Linked DNA regions of Homo sapiens: all the other regions are linked to region 3. The links are contacts of gene promoters, found by promoter capture Hi-C in blood cells and fetal thymus (Javierre and others, 2016). All regions are on one chromosome and are shown on one strand. Each heading gives the region's core, a stretch centred on a gene start or on the middle of the fragment in contact. The rest is flanking DNA. Distances are from core to core; before and after follow the strand shown.

Region 1 (4,453 bases), core at 1,426-3,925, 220 kb before region 3:
CCAGAGCATGAGTGCTTTGAGCAAGACAACACATAGTAGAGTGTTTTTTTCTTGCAATAATGAAGCCTAACGGGTCCCCTCCCTCAAAACAAACACAGCGTAGATCAAACCACATGGATTCTCAATCCATAATGTCTTTACTTTACACAGCTTAACCACTGTCCTTGTAAAAGTTCAGTCAGATAAAGTTACAGGAAATGAAACAGGCATTCTGTATTAAGGAAAAGTATTTTACCTGGTAACAGGACAGAAGAGATTCCTTTTTAAATTACTATAACATAACCAGATTCTATACTACAAGGGGTTGTCCTAGGCCTTAGCAAATATATTCAAAAGGCATTAACAGCAAAACTGTGTTTACAGAAGCTCTAGAGGTCAAATTCAGAAGCTGTTAAATTGACAGAACAAAAGAAGTTGAGCTCTAAAAGCATACTGGGGGCTGGGCGCAATGGCTCACGCCTGTAATCCCAGCACTTTGGAAGGCCGAGGCAGGTGGATCACCTGAGGTCAGGAGTTTGAGACCAGCCTGGCCAACATGGTGAAACCCCATGTCTATTAAAAATACAAAAAATTAGCCGCGCATGGTGGCGGGCACCTATAATCCCAGATACTTGGGAGGCTGAGGCAGGAGAACTGCTTGAACCTGGGAGGCAGAGGTTGCAGTGAGCCGAGATCGTGCCACAGCACTCTAGCCTGGGCAAAGAGCAAGATTATCTCAAAAAAAAATTTAATTAAATAAATAAAAGCATATTGGATCAGATTGAGTCATATCCTTTTTAAAAATGGCCAGGCGCGGTGGCTCATGCCTGTAATCCTAGCACTTTGGGAGGCCGAGGTGGGCGGATCACGAGGTCAGGAGATTGAGACCATCCTGGCTAACACAGTGAAATCCTGTCTCTACTAAAAATCCAAAAAAAAAAAAAAAAATTAGCCGGGCATGGTGGCGGGCACCTGTAGTCCCAGCTACTCGGGAGGCTGAGGCAGGAGAACGGCGTGAACCCCAGGAGGCAGAGCTTGCAGTGAGCTGAGATCGTGCCACTGCACTCCAGCCTGGGTGACAGGGCGAGACTCCGTCTCAAAAAATAAAAAATAAAAATGTTTCTTGTTTTTCTCTTCAATTATAATATGTGTTCAATTCTGAAAATAGTGTAGAATAATTTAAAGTTGCCAGTACCCACAGAGCACTAACTCATTAACAGTGTTTTCCTTTTAATCTCCATTTTACATACGTGTCACAAATCTTATATAAAATGACAAGCATAGAAGATATATTGTTTTCTGCTTACTACTCTGTGAGCATTTTTATGCATCCCTAGTCTTCAGAAGCATGATTAATTGCTGTACCCTTCTTGGCCACATACTTACAGAATAATGTAACCAATCCCCCATTGTTGTATATTTAGGTGGCTTCTAATTTTTTGTTAGTTTAATATAATACCATTGGGAGTCTCTTTACACAGAGGCTTAGGTGATTATGTCAAATTCTCAAAAAGTGGAACTGACAGATAAAATATGGTCATTAAAGCCATTTACACATCCCTAGGTTGCTTTCTAGAACCGTTACACCGATTTATTTATACTCTAACAACATAATAATTACTTATGCACTTTATTTATTTAGAGACAAGGTTTTGCTCTGTCACCCAGGCTAGAGTGCAGTGGCACAATCTCGTTCACTACAACCTCCACCTCTCAGGCTCAAGCCACCCTCCCACTTCAGCCTCCTGAGCAGCTGAGACTACAGGCACTCACCACCATGTCCAGCTGATTTTTGTGTTTTTTGTAGAGACGAGGTTTGCCTTTGTTGCCCAGGCTGGTCTTAAACTCCAGAGCTCAAGTGATCCATCTGCTCGGCCTCCCAAAGTGCTGGTATTATAGGCATGAGCCAACACTCCCAGCCAATTTTTTTTTTTTTTTTTGTAGAGTTGGGGTCTCACTTTGTTACCCTGATTGGTTTCCAACTCCTGGACTCAAGCAATCCTGCCTCGGCCTTCCAAACTGTTAGGATTAAAGGCATGAACCACCATGCCTGGTTTATCTTTTTTTTGTTTTTAACAGTCTCACTCTATTGCCCAGGCTGGAGTGCAGTGGCGCAATCTCGGCTCACTGCAACCTCTACCTCCCGGGTTCCAGCAATTCTCCTGCCTTGGCCTCCCAAGTAGCTAGGATTACAGGCATGAGCCACCACGCCTGGCTAATTCTGTATTTTTAGTAGAGATGGAGTTTCGCCACATTGGCCAGGCTGGTCTCGACCTCCTGACCTCAAGTGATCCACTCACCTCGGCCTCCCAAAGTACTGGGATTACAGGCATGAGCCACCATGCCCAGCATGTTTTATTCCCCCAGGGTGGAAAGCAGTGGTGCCATCATAGCACACTGCAGCCTCAACCTCAGCTTAGCATCTTTCCAACTCAGCCTCCCAGCTAGGACTGCAGGTGTGCACCACCACACCCAGCTAATTTTTAAATTTATTTTGAGACAGGATCTTACTTTTGTCACCCAGGCTGGAGTGCAGTGGCATGATCTCGGCTTACTGCAGCCTCCAACTCCTGGGTTCAAGCAATCCTCCTGCCTCAGCCCCCCAAGTAGCTGGGACTCCAGGCATATACACCATTCTTGGCTTAATTTATATTTTTGATATAGACGGGGTTTTGCCATGTTGCCCAGATGGGTCTCAAACTCCTGAGCTCAAGCGATCCACCAGCCTCAGCCTCCCAAAGTGCTGGGATTACAGGCGTGAGCCATCAGGCCCGACCTAATTTTTAAATTTTTTTGTGCAGACGGGGGTCTCACTATGTTGCCCAGGCTGGTCTCAAACTCCTGGGCTCAGGCGATCCTCCAGGCTCAGGTGATCTTCCCACCTCAGCCTCCCAAAGTGCTGGGATTATAAGCATGAGCCATGGGGTCTGGCCCCACTTTTATCTTATTACAATGATTCTCAATCTTGCCAGTTCATAGGAATCACACAGATGAGCTTTTACGGAATTCCTATGCTCAGGCCTCACCCTCTAAGATTCTGATATAACTATACTAAAGTACCTGTCTGCAGACCTGTAATATTATCTGAGTAATTTTTTTTAAACTTAGAAAAAATTATTTCTTGGTAAGTACAATCACCAGCTTTTTATAGCAGGCTAAATAAATTCAAGGTTAAACAATGCCTCAGAAAGAAGAAAATGTAAGTTAATAAATCAGAGACCAAATTTTGAAAGCAACCACTTCACGCCCATAGTCTGTCAACCTCACTGTATAAATGAGATGTCATTCTCTCCAAACCTGACCACCTAAAACCTGGGAGTCAATCTAAACCATGTGAAATGGCAGCAATGTAAACAGAACAGTCACAGAAACAGGCTAGGTTCACTCCTACCAGTTACCCTTAAATCCTGCTTACGGACAGTGACCCTTACCTTAGTTACAATTTAAGGCCAGGCATGGTGGCTCCCTGTAATCCCAGCACTTTGGGAGGCCAAGGCAGGCAGATCACATGAGGCCAGAAGTTCGAGACCAGCCTGGCCAACATGGTGAAGCCCCATCTTTACTAGAAATACAAACATTAGCCAGGTGTGGTGCCACACGCCTGTAATCCCAGCTACTTGGGAGGCTAAGGCATGAGAATCATTTGAACCCGGGAGGCAGAGGTTGCAGTGAGCTGAAATCACGCCACTGCACTCCAGCCTGGGCAGCAGAGTGAGACTCTGTCTCAAAAAACAAATAAATAAAGTTAGAACTTAAAAACTAAACTTTTACCTATTACTTCAGTTAGCAACAGTTAGTGTCAAACATGGCACTAGTAGTAACAATTAGAAAGCAAAGTTTCAGCGCTGGACTTGGTGGCTCATGCCGGTTGTCTCAACACTTTGGGAAGCCAAAGCAAGAGGATCACTTGAGTCCACGAGTTTGCGACCAGCCTGGGCAACATAGCAAGACCCCATCTCTACAAAAAATTTAAAAATTAGCCCAATGTGGTGGCACACACCTGCAGTCCTAGCTGAGAGGCTGAGTTGGAAGGATTGCTTAAGCCAAGGTTGAGGCTGCGGTGTGCTATGATGGCACCACTGCTCTCCACCCTGGGCTACAGAGTGAGCCTCTGTCTCAAAAAAAGAAAAAGGCCAGGCACGGTGGCTCACGCCTGTAATCCCAGCACTTTGGGATGCTGAGGCGGGTGGATCACGAGGTCAGGAGATCAAGACCATCCTGGCTAACATGGTGAAACCCTGTCTCTACTAAAAATACAAAAAATTAACCAGGCGTGGTGGCGGGAGCCTGTAGTCCCAGCTACTCAGGAGGCTGAGGCAGGAGAACGGTGTGAACCTGGGAGGCGGGGCTTGCAGTGAGCCAAGATTGCACCACTGCACTCCAGCCTGGGAGACACAGTGAGACTCCATCTCAAAAAAAAAAAGAAAAAGATAAACCAGGCACAGTGGTTCAAGAGTTCAAGGATCTCTTAAGC
Region 2 (4,455 bases), core at 1,825-4,324, 230 kb before region 3:
TTTGAAAAGCCAAAGAGAAACTGTCAACCTACAGCAAGGTGGAATAAGCAACCAAATCCAGTTATTTTTGGTTTGTACTGCAAAGGAGTGAACTGAGTCCAGCAACAAATAATCTAAAGCCCATCAGCTGTTTCTGATTTTTTCAAGGCCCCACAGCTGAGGGGGACGAACAGAGAAGATAAAGTTATTTGTTGGCAGAAAAACAGAACAGAAAAAAACCTGGGAACCACTGACAGAATAAATAACTGGGAAGGAAGATAAAGCAGATCTCCCTATTGAAAGACACTTGGCCTGAAATAGTAGAAAATGAAGCCCAATTTTTTTTTTCTGAGACATGGTCTTGCTCTGCCGCCCAGGCCAGCTCACTGCAGACTTGATCTCCCCAGCTCAGGTGATCCTTCTGCCTCAGCCTCCTGAGGAGCTGGGACAACAGGTGCACATCATCATACCCAGCTAATTTTTTTTTGTATTTTTTGTAGAAATGCCCTGGCTGGTCTGAAACTCCTAGCCTCAAGCAATCTGCCTGAGTAGGCCTCCCAAAAGTGCTGGGATTACAGGTGTGAGCTACCACATCCAGCCCATTTATTTTCATTTCTATTCTTTTTCTGCATATGTTTGATGAAAAATTTATAGTACTCAAAGAGTCTAATTTTAAATCTTACAACAAATTTGTGACATTTCTCCCAAGCAATAAGGAGGATAAGAAACAAAAATAAACTCCATCTTAAATAAAAGAAATATCTATATCCCCAAACTACAATCAATGAACCAGAGAAGCAGGGAACAGCATTAACTGATTTAACAGAACCCTGGCATGCTGAGGGGACACTTCACTTACAAAGAATTCACAGCACCATCACTGACAGAAAGACTAAAAATACAAAAACTAAAGGCCTTGAAGGTTTGTGAACTTAGGATGGCTAGGCCTACCTCAAAGAGATTAGGTTAATACTGCTGCCTGACCCTCCATTTCTACAGGAAGGCCTCACCTCAGACATGGAGTAGCCAGCAATCTCCACCACAGTTGCTGAGATCTTCTCGGGGCTCCTCTCCAGGCTGCCGTACTCCCGCACGAGGCAGCGCACATTCACAGGGTGCAGGAACATATGCTGTCCATCTTCCGCTGAGGACAAGGGGCTCTATCACACACCAGTCTTGGCCAGTCCCCAGGAGGCTCCCCACCCCTCCCCATGCCCAAGGGCTCAAGCCACCCAAGCCACAGGATCTAGTGGCGCTCCTCTGCTTAGAGCACCGGGTCACCTCTGAAACACCTCTGCGGCAACCCAGCCCTCTCTTCCGGCACCCTCACCTTGGTAAAAGTAGTAACAAGGAGAGCTGCTGAGGCGTGTGAAGCCTGACTTGGTGATGGGTTCCTGCTGGCTGGACTCAGTGCAAATGGTCCCCTCTTTAAGATTGTCATCTGCTAACTCCAAGTCATCACAGGCCTCTGGCAACCCCTCAGGCTCTGGTTCAGACACTGCTTCCTCCTCTTCTACCAGAGGGAGAGCAAGAGGTCTAGAAGGAGTGTCCAGAGAACAAACTTCCGTGGTTTCTTCATCGAAGGCAGACAGATACTCCAGCACACCCTGTTGCAGCAAACTCTAAGTCAACAGAAAGGATATCTCCTGCTTTCCGAAAGCAATGTGGCAAATGCAGACCTAAGAGCCAAGCTCCCTAGATGTTTATCTTAGCTGTCGTGTTCACTGATTTAACACCCCTGGGGAAAGAACTAATAACAAGCATACAGAAAATACTCATTGTCCCCTCTTCTCTTGAGAAGGTTTAGATCTCACAGTAATGCCTACCAGCTCAATGACAGCATTTGAGGAACGGCAGCCACTTAGTAACAGGAACACACTAACCTTCCTGGGTTGAAAAACAGACTCCTTCGCCAAGGGAGCCATCAGCACCAGTTGTTCCAGAGCAGCCACAACACCAGTGACCTCCCTTCTGCTTCCGGCCAATCCCGACAGAGCCTCTTCCCGAGTCTAACGTGGCCAGAGAGAACACCAGAGAAGGTTAAGTTTCCAGACACACACTTAGCTTGAAGGGCAAGGGCTTAGAATGGCCTCTCAACAGGACCAAAAGTTAAAAGGCAATGAGACCCAATGGGAAGGAATTAGGTGCTTAAATATCTCAACTTTGAGGGAAACAGGAAGCAAAAAGCATGCAATACCCACTAAGGATTGGAATCTGCTTAGAATCTGACACTGGGGAGTGTAAATTAGTTCAATCATTGTGGAAGACAGTGTGGTGATTCCTCAAAGACCTAAAGACAGAAATAAAATTTCACCCAGCAATCCCATTACTGGGTATATAGCCAAAGGAATATAAATCATTCTACTGTAAAGACACATACGGCCAGGTGTGGTGGCTCATGCCTGTAATCCCAGCACTTTGGGAGACTGAGGTGGGCGGATCACCTGAGGTTGGAAGTTCAAGACCACCCTGACCAACATGGAGAAACCCCATCTCTACTAAAAATACAAAATAACCCAGGCATGGTGGGGCATGCCTGTAATTCCTGCTACTCAGGAGGCTGAGGCAGGAGAATCACTTGAACCTTGGAGGCAGAGGTTGTGATGAGCCGAGATCACGCCACTGCACTCCAGCCTGGGCAACGAGAGCAAAACTCTGTCTCAAAAAAAAAAAAAAAAAAAAGAAAGAAAGAAAAAGAAAAACCAAATATCGCACACATGTTCTCACTTCTAAGTGGGAGCTAAATGATGAAACATGGACACATAGAGGGGAACACACACTGAGGCCTATCAGAGGGTGGAGAGTGGGAGGAGGGAGGGGATCAGGAAAAATAACCAATGGGTACTAAGCTTAATACCTGGGTGAAAATCTGTATAACAAACCCCCATGACACAGGTTTACCATGTAACAACCTGCATTTGTACCCCTGAACTTAAAAGTTAAAAAAAATAAAAGAGAATCTGACACAAACAACACTATACAAAAAACTTCCAGAACAGAAATCTAAGAACATGAAACTAACCTAGTTTTTACAAACTATGCTCAGACAGAGGTCCAGAGTAGTAGGAAGGATTTAGCTAACTCCACCTCAGCCTGGACAGCTCTAATTCTATGTAGCCTTTCTTATGCCTGTAATGGCATTTGAACAAATACGGCTGCAACGTATTATAGAAAGAAAGCAAAAGTTAAATACACAGGACTCTACCCAAGGAGCCCTTGGGAGTCAGGGAGAAGGGAATTCAAATACCAGCTGCATCCCTTACTAGCAAATTACCCAACCCAGGATTCAGTTTCCTCATCCATGAAAGGGGATAGTTCTATCTACCACACTAGAAGCTTAAGTGAGATAAATGTGTATAGCACAAGTCCTATCAAATGCTGATCACTCAATAAATATGGGCTTCTATTGCTCTAAGCTAGATCAGTGGTTCCAGGAGTGTGGTCTGGGGATGAGCAGCCATCAGAATCACCCTAGAACTTGTTATATGCAAATTACTGAGCCTACTGAGCTTAACCTATGCAATCAATATCTCAAAGTGGGACCTAACAACCAGTGGTTGTGATGCTTCAAGAATCTCTGTTGTGGAAGATAAAAGACCCAGGGAATTCTGTTCTTGTGTAATTCTTGCCGTTTCAGGTACTCCTAAGGCATACTGGGCAGGCCATAATACTTTCTCCACAATGTCTTTCAAAACACCTCTAGAATAGAATCTTAAGTATTTTCCCAGAAAACAAAGAACTCTAACTTGCTTTAAGAACATAGCTAATCTAAAAAACTCCACTGTCACAATTAGTTATAAAATCATTTTGACTTGCTCCTTTCAGCTCTAGAAAGAGCTTTAAAAGCCCTAGGTTAAACCTTCTCTACTGTCATCAAACAAAGCCCAAAACAAATTGGCTTTTTTAGCCATTCTCTGCTTATTGTCTTAAATGTGGAATGGAACTAACTTAATCCCCAGCGTCCATCATCTCACCCCCGACAGAGTGAAAAGGTTTAGCATTTCTGGTTTTCACCACAGAACGCCGAGAAAGTGAAAAGGTTTAGCATCTCCAATGCATCCTCTCACCTTGAGCTCCTGGATAGCTGCCTCAATAAAGCAGGACTCGGGAGTGTGCTTCTCCTCTGCCAGCTGCTGCTCTAGTGCTACTTTCTCCTCCAGAACTACCCGGTGCAGCACCTGCTCCTTAGAGGCCAGCAGCAACTTGGAGTACTGGCTGTGCTGTTCATCTATAAGAATGCCAGCAAGATCAAAGAAATGCAACATTCAAAGCTCACGATGGTGTAGCTAAATAGGAATTTTCAAATACAGCCTTTTCTCTGGGGTGAAAATGGGGTAATTTAGCATGATTTCCTAGAAAATAATTTAACAATGGTCTTAAAATAAGGTCTGTAGCTCTGCTCTTGATATAAGAAATCTAAGAAACCCAGAGATGTAGTCAAAACTTTAGTCACGCGTTTATTGTTACAGCATTGTA
Region 3 (4,456 bases), core at 750-3,249:
GGCTCATGCCTATAATCCCAGCATTTTGGGAGGCTGAGGAGTGGATCACCTGAGGTCAAGAGTTTGAGACCAGCCTGACCAACATGGTGAAACCTTGTCTCTACTAAAAATACAAAAATTATCCAGGCATGCTGGCAGGCGCCTGTAATTCCCAGCTACACGAGAGGCTGAGGCAGGAGAATCGCTTGAACCTGGGAGGCGGAGGTTGCAGTAAGCCGAGATCGTGCCATTGCACTCCAGCCTGGGCGACAAGAGCGAAACTCTGTCTCAAAAAAAAAAGAGAGAGAGAGAGAGAAGCAGATTAGCAGTTACCAGGGGCTGAGGGAGTGTGACTGCTAATGGGTACAGGGTTTCCTTCTGGAGTGATAAAAATGTTCTGGAACCCCATAGAGGTGATGGTTGCACAACACTGTGAAGGTACTAAATGCCCCCGAATTGTTTACTTAAACGTGGTTAATGTTATGTGAATTTCAGCTAAACAATGTTATGTAGATATTTGGCCGGGCGCGGTGGCTCACGCCTGTAATCCCAGCATTTTGGGAGGCCGAGGCAGGTGGATCACGAGGTCAGGAGATCGAGACCATCCTGGCTAATGCGGTGAAACCCCATCTCTACTAAAAATACAAAAAAAAAAATTAACCGGGCGTGGTGGTGGGTGCCTGTAGTCCCAGCTACTTGGGAGGCTGAGGCAGGAGAATGGCATGAACCTGGGAGGCAGAGCTTGCAGTGAGCCAAGATCGCGCCATTGCACTCCAGCCTAGGCAACAGAGCAAGACTCCGTCTCAAAAAATATATATAAATAAATAGATATGTGATGTGACAGGTTTTTTTTTGAGATGGAGTTTTGCTCTTGTTCCCTAGGCTGGAGTGCAATGGCGTGATCTCAGCTCACCGCAACCTCCGCCTCCAGGGTTCAAGCCATTCTCCTGCCTCGGCCTCCGGAGTAGCTGGGATTACAGGCATAAGCCACCATGCCTGGCTAATTTTGTGTTTTTAGTAGAGACAGGGTTATTCCATGTTGGTCAGGCTGGTCTCGAACTCTCCACCTCAGGTGATCTGCCAGCCTCAGCCTCCCAAAGTGCTGGGATTACAGGCATGAGCCACCGTGCCTGGCCTCTGATATGACAGTTCTAATGCCCTTTAGTATTCTATAATTCAGACTCAGGCCTTTGGAATCCAAAGCCCAGGTTTTTCTCACAAACCCACACTGCAGAGCGGAGTGGTGGAAAAAAATAAAACCTCTGCCTTGGAATCAGACAGATCTAAACTGGAGCCCTATTTTGTCATTTGCCAACTGTGTGACCTTGGGCAAGTTACCGCAACTCTCTGAACCTGTCTCTTTATCTGCAAGGTGCACGACTGATGGGACTATTCAACCAGACCCAGTGCACAGATTCAGGCACTTGATAAGACATTGAGGCTGCAGGCAGCGATCTTTTTTCTTTCTTTCTTTTTTTTTTTTTTTTTTTGAAATAGGGTCTCACTCTGCTGCAGAGGCTCAATCACTGTTCATTGCAGCCTTGACCTCCCTGGCTCAAGAGATCCTCCCATCTCAGCCTCCTGAGTTGCTGGGATCACAGGTGCAATCCACCACCACACCTGGTTAACATTTTTTTTTTTAGAGATGAGGTCTCTCTATGTTGCCCAGGCTGCACTTCCTTCTTGTCTCCCTTATCCCAGCGTCCGACTGAACTGACGGCTTTGCTTTCCCCAACCAGCCCGTGAAGCTGGGCTGAGTACAAAGTGGTGGGTATGAGGGTCAAGATTGTAAGATCTGAAAACTCCAGAAACCATCCCTTTGGTTAACAGTTGCTAAGGACAAATGCATAACATATTTTCCAGTGATCCCATGCTGGCAAATCGTCAGGGTCATTCCTGCAACAGACAGATTCAAGGCCAGCCCCAAACTCAGCCAAGAGCAAAGCAAACACTCCAGCCTTATCTGGGCAGGGTTGTGTGGAGACTGACTATAAGACTATACCTGAGACTGGTCATCTCAGTTCTTTTCTCACCTTGACTGCAAGATGAAACTCCTTGTGCTAGCTGTGCTGCTCACAGGTAGGCAAGTCTCCCCGGCTCCACCCGCCTTTCTCTCCCAAGTGAGCTAAGATCTCACTCCTCTGGAATGGGGGCCACAGGCCACAGCAAACAGGGATGGCCAGCCCCGCAGTCTCAATTCGAGGTTCCCAGTGGGGCTTAAGGGCTCCTCTATTGGGGTTCCCTCAAGGCTGGCACTTTTTCAACCTGCAAGTCTGAACTCAGATTGCCTGAGCTAAGAAAGCTTGCCTTTATTTTCTTTTTTCCAGACAGGGTCTTGCTCTATCACCCAGGCTGGAGTTCAGTGGCATGATCATAGCTCACCACAGCTTCCAACTCGTGGGCTCAAGTGATCCTCCCACCTTACTCAACTAAGTAGTTAGGCCAATCTCCCATTTATTTTATTTTATTTTAATTTTTATTTTTATTTTACTTTATTTTATTTTTGAGACGGGGCTCACTCTGTCGCCCAGGCTGGAGTGCGGTGGCGTGATCTCAGATCACTACAACCTCCATCTCCTGGGTTCAAATAATTCTCTTGCCTCAGCCTCTCAAGTAGCTGGGACTTGTAGCTCTCAAGTAGCTGGCACACACCACCATGCCCAGCTAATTTTTTGTGTGTTTTTTTTGGTAGAGACAGGTTTTCACCATGTTGGCCAGGCTGGGTGACCTCCCTTTTAGATTCTCCTCATCCTGCTCTATTCTTCCCCTTTCTAATGCAGTATCCAGTTTCCTTACTTATCACATTTATTATTATTCTTATTATTATTGAGACAGAGTCTTGCTTTGTCGCCAAGGCTGGAGTACAGTGGTGCGATCTCGGCTCACTGCAAGCTCCACCTGCTGGGTTCACGCCATTCTCCCGCCTCAGCCTCCCCAGTAGCTGGGACTAAAGGCGCCTGCCACCACGCCCCGCTAATTTTTTTGTATTTTTAATAAAGACGGGGTTTCATCGTGTTAGCCAGGATGGTCTCGATCTCATGACCTTGTGATCCGCCTGCCTCGGCCTCCCAAAGTGCTGGGATTACAGGCATGAGCCACCGTGCCCGGCCTTATCACATTTATTATTTATTGTTTTTCTCTCCCACTAGGTTGTAAGCTCCATGAGGTTAGAGATTATTATTATTATTATTATTATTATTATTATTATTATTATTATTATATCTGTTCACTGCTGTATCTCTAGCTCCTAGGACAGAGCCTGGCACATAGTAAGTGCTCAATAAATATTCACTGGATAAACAGTGCAGATAGTTTAAAACTATCTGACCTAGGGAGGCTGAGGCAGGAGAATGGCGTGAACCCGGGAAGCAGAGTTTGCAGTGAGCTGAAATCGTGTCACTGCACTCCAACCTGGGCAACAGAGCAAGACTCCATCTCAAAAAAAAAAAAAAAACTATCAGGCCTAGCTGGGTGGCACATGCCTGTAATCCTAGCTGAGGCGGTAGGGTCCCAGAAGAAGAAGAAGAAGAAAAAGAAGAAGATATATATATATATACACACACACAAAGATATAAACTTTATATATATAAAGTTTTCATTAAAAAAAAAAAAAAACCTCTACCCACTTTCACTTTACCAGGTTCCTGGGTCCAACGGTCTTCAGAGGAGGCAGCTGGCAGGGGTCAGGGAGGCAGCGTGGGACCCGAGGGAGCAGGAAGGCAGTGTGTCCCCGGGGTGCTGGCAGACCGATTTGAACTCTGGCTATGTCTTCTTGCAGTGGCCGCCGCCGACAGCGGCATCAGCCCTCGGGCCGTGTGGCAGTTCCGCAAAATGATCAAGTGCGTGATCCCGGGGAGTGACCCCTTCTTGGAATACAACAACTACGGCTGCTACTGTGGCTTGGGGGGCTCAGGCACCCCCGTGGATGAACTGGACAAGTAAGTGATCCGCCTGCAGGAAAATTGGAGTGCCTGCCGGGGGCGGGGTGGGGCACACGCCAAGGATCTCACGAGGCATACAAAGGGGACTTGCATATCTGCTAAGGATAACATATTTTCACCTCTTGTCAAATAAACAAATATGTTCCAAGAGGACCCTGTAGCGAACGCACCCCGTTAGAGATGGAAACAATGACCGACGTGCAAAACAGTGGGCGATGCTGCCCTCCAGTGGCAGAATGTAGCAACAGTAAACATCACAGCAACTATCCACGTGTCATTTTCTAGCAGTGGTTGTCACTGCACCTTCTGAATACAGGATTTTACTGTATTCTTGCAACCATGTTAAAAATCGCTTTCAGGCCAGGCGCGGTGGCTCATGCCTGTAATCCCAGCACTTTGGGAGGCCGAGGCGGGCGGATCACTTGAGGTCAGGAGTTCGAGACCAGCCTGGCCAACATGGTGAAACCCTGTCTCTACTAAAAAATACAAAAATTAGCCGGACATGGTGGCGAGCGCCTGTAACCCCAGCTACTTGG

Evidence for each region. The method cuts DNA at HindIII sites, captures the fragments that hold promoters and counts their contacts. A CHiCAGO score of 5 or more calls a contact.
Region 1: a fragment that was not itself captured here is called in contact with the fragment with the promoter of PLA2G1B in region 3 in 1 of 17 cell types (naive B cells); the score reaches 5.0 in naive B cells.
Region 2: a fragment that was not itself captured here is called in contact with the fragment with the promoter of PLA2G1B in region 3 in 2 of 17 cell types (M2 macrophages and endothelial precursors); the score reaches 5.6 in M2 macrophages.

Annotation. Positions count from the first base shown.
Region 1 is chr12:120,541,823-120,546,275 of GRCh38, reverse strand. All of the region lies in intron 1 of RNF10 (ring finger protein 10), which reads right to left. Among named protein-coding and RNA genes, the nearest start is that of RNF10, 9.7 kb to the right of the region's middle. The HindIII fragment of the contact is 8,638 bases long and covers 1-4,453 here.
Region 2 is chr12:120,560,478-120,564,932 of GRCh38, reverse strand. It overlaps RNF10 (ring finger protein 10), which reads right to left. Exons shown (of 17, transcript NM_014868.5): 7 at 4,047-4,207; 8 at 1,863-1,988; 9 at 1,310-1,586; 10 at 990-1,123. Among named protein-coding and RNA genes, the nearest start is that of POP5, 19 kb to the left of the region's middle. The HindIII fragment of the contact is 487 bases long and covers 2,831-3,317 here.
Region 3 is chr12:120,325,322-120,329,777 of GRCh38, reverse strand. It overlaps PLA2G1B (phospholipase A2 group IB), which reads left to right and starts at 1,999. Exons shown (of 4, transcript NM_000928.3): 1 at 1,999-2,058; 2 at 3,758-3,917. The coding sequence starts at 2,025. RefSeq lists an enhancer at 4,043-4,102. The HindIII fragment of the contact is 6,320 bases long and covers 1-2,283 here.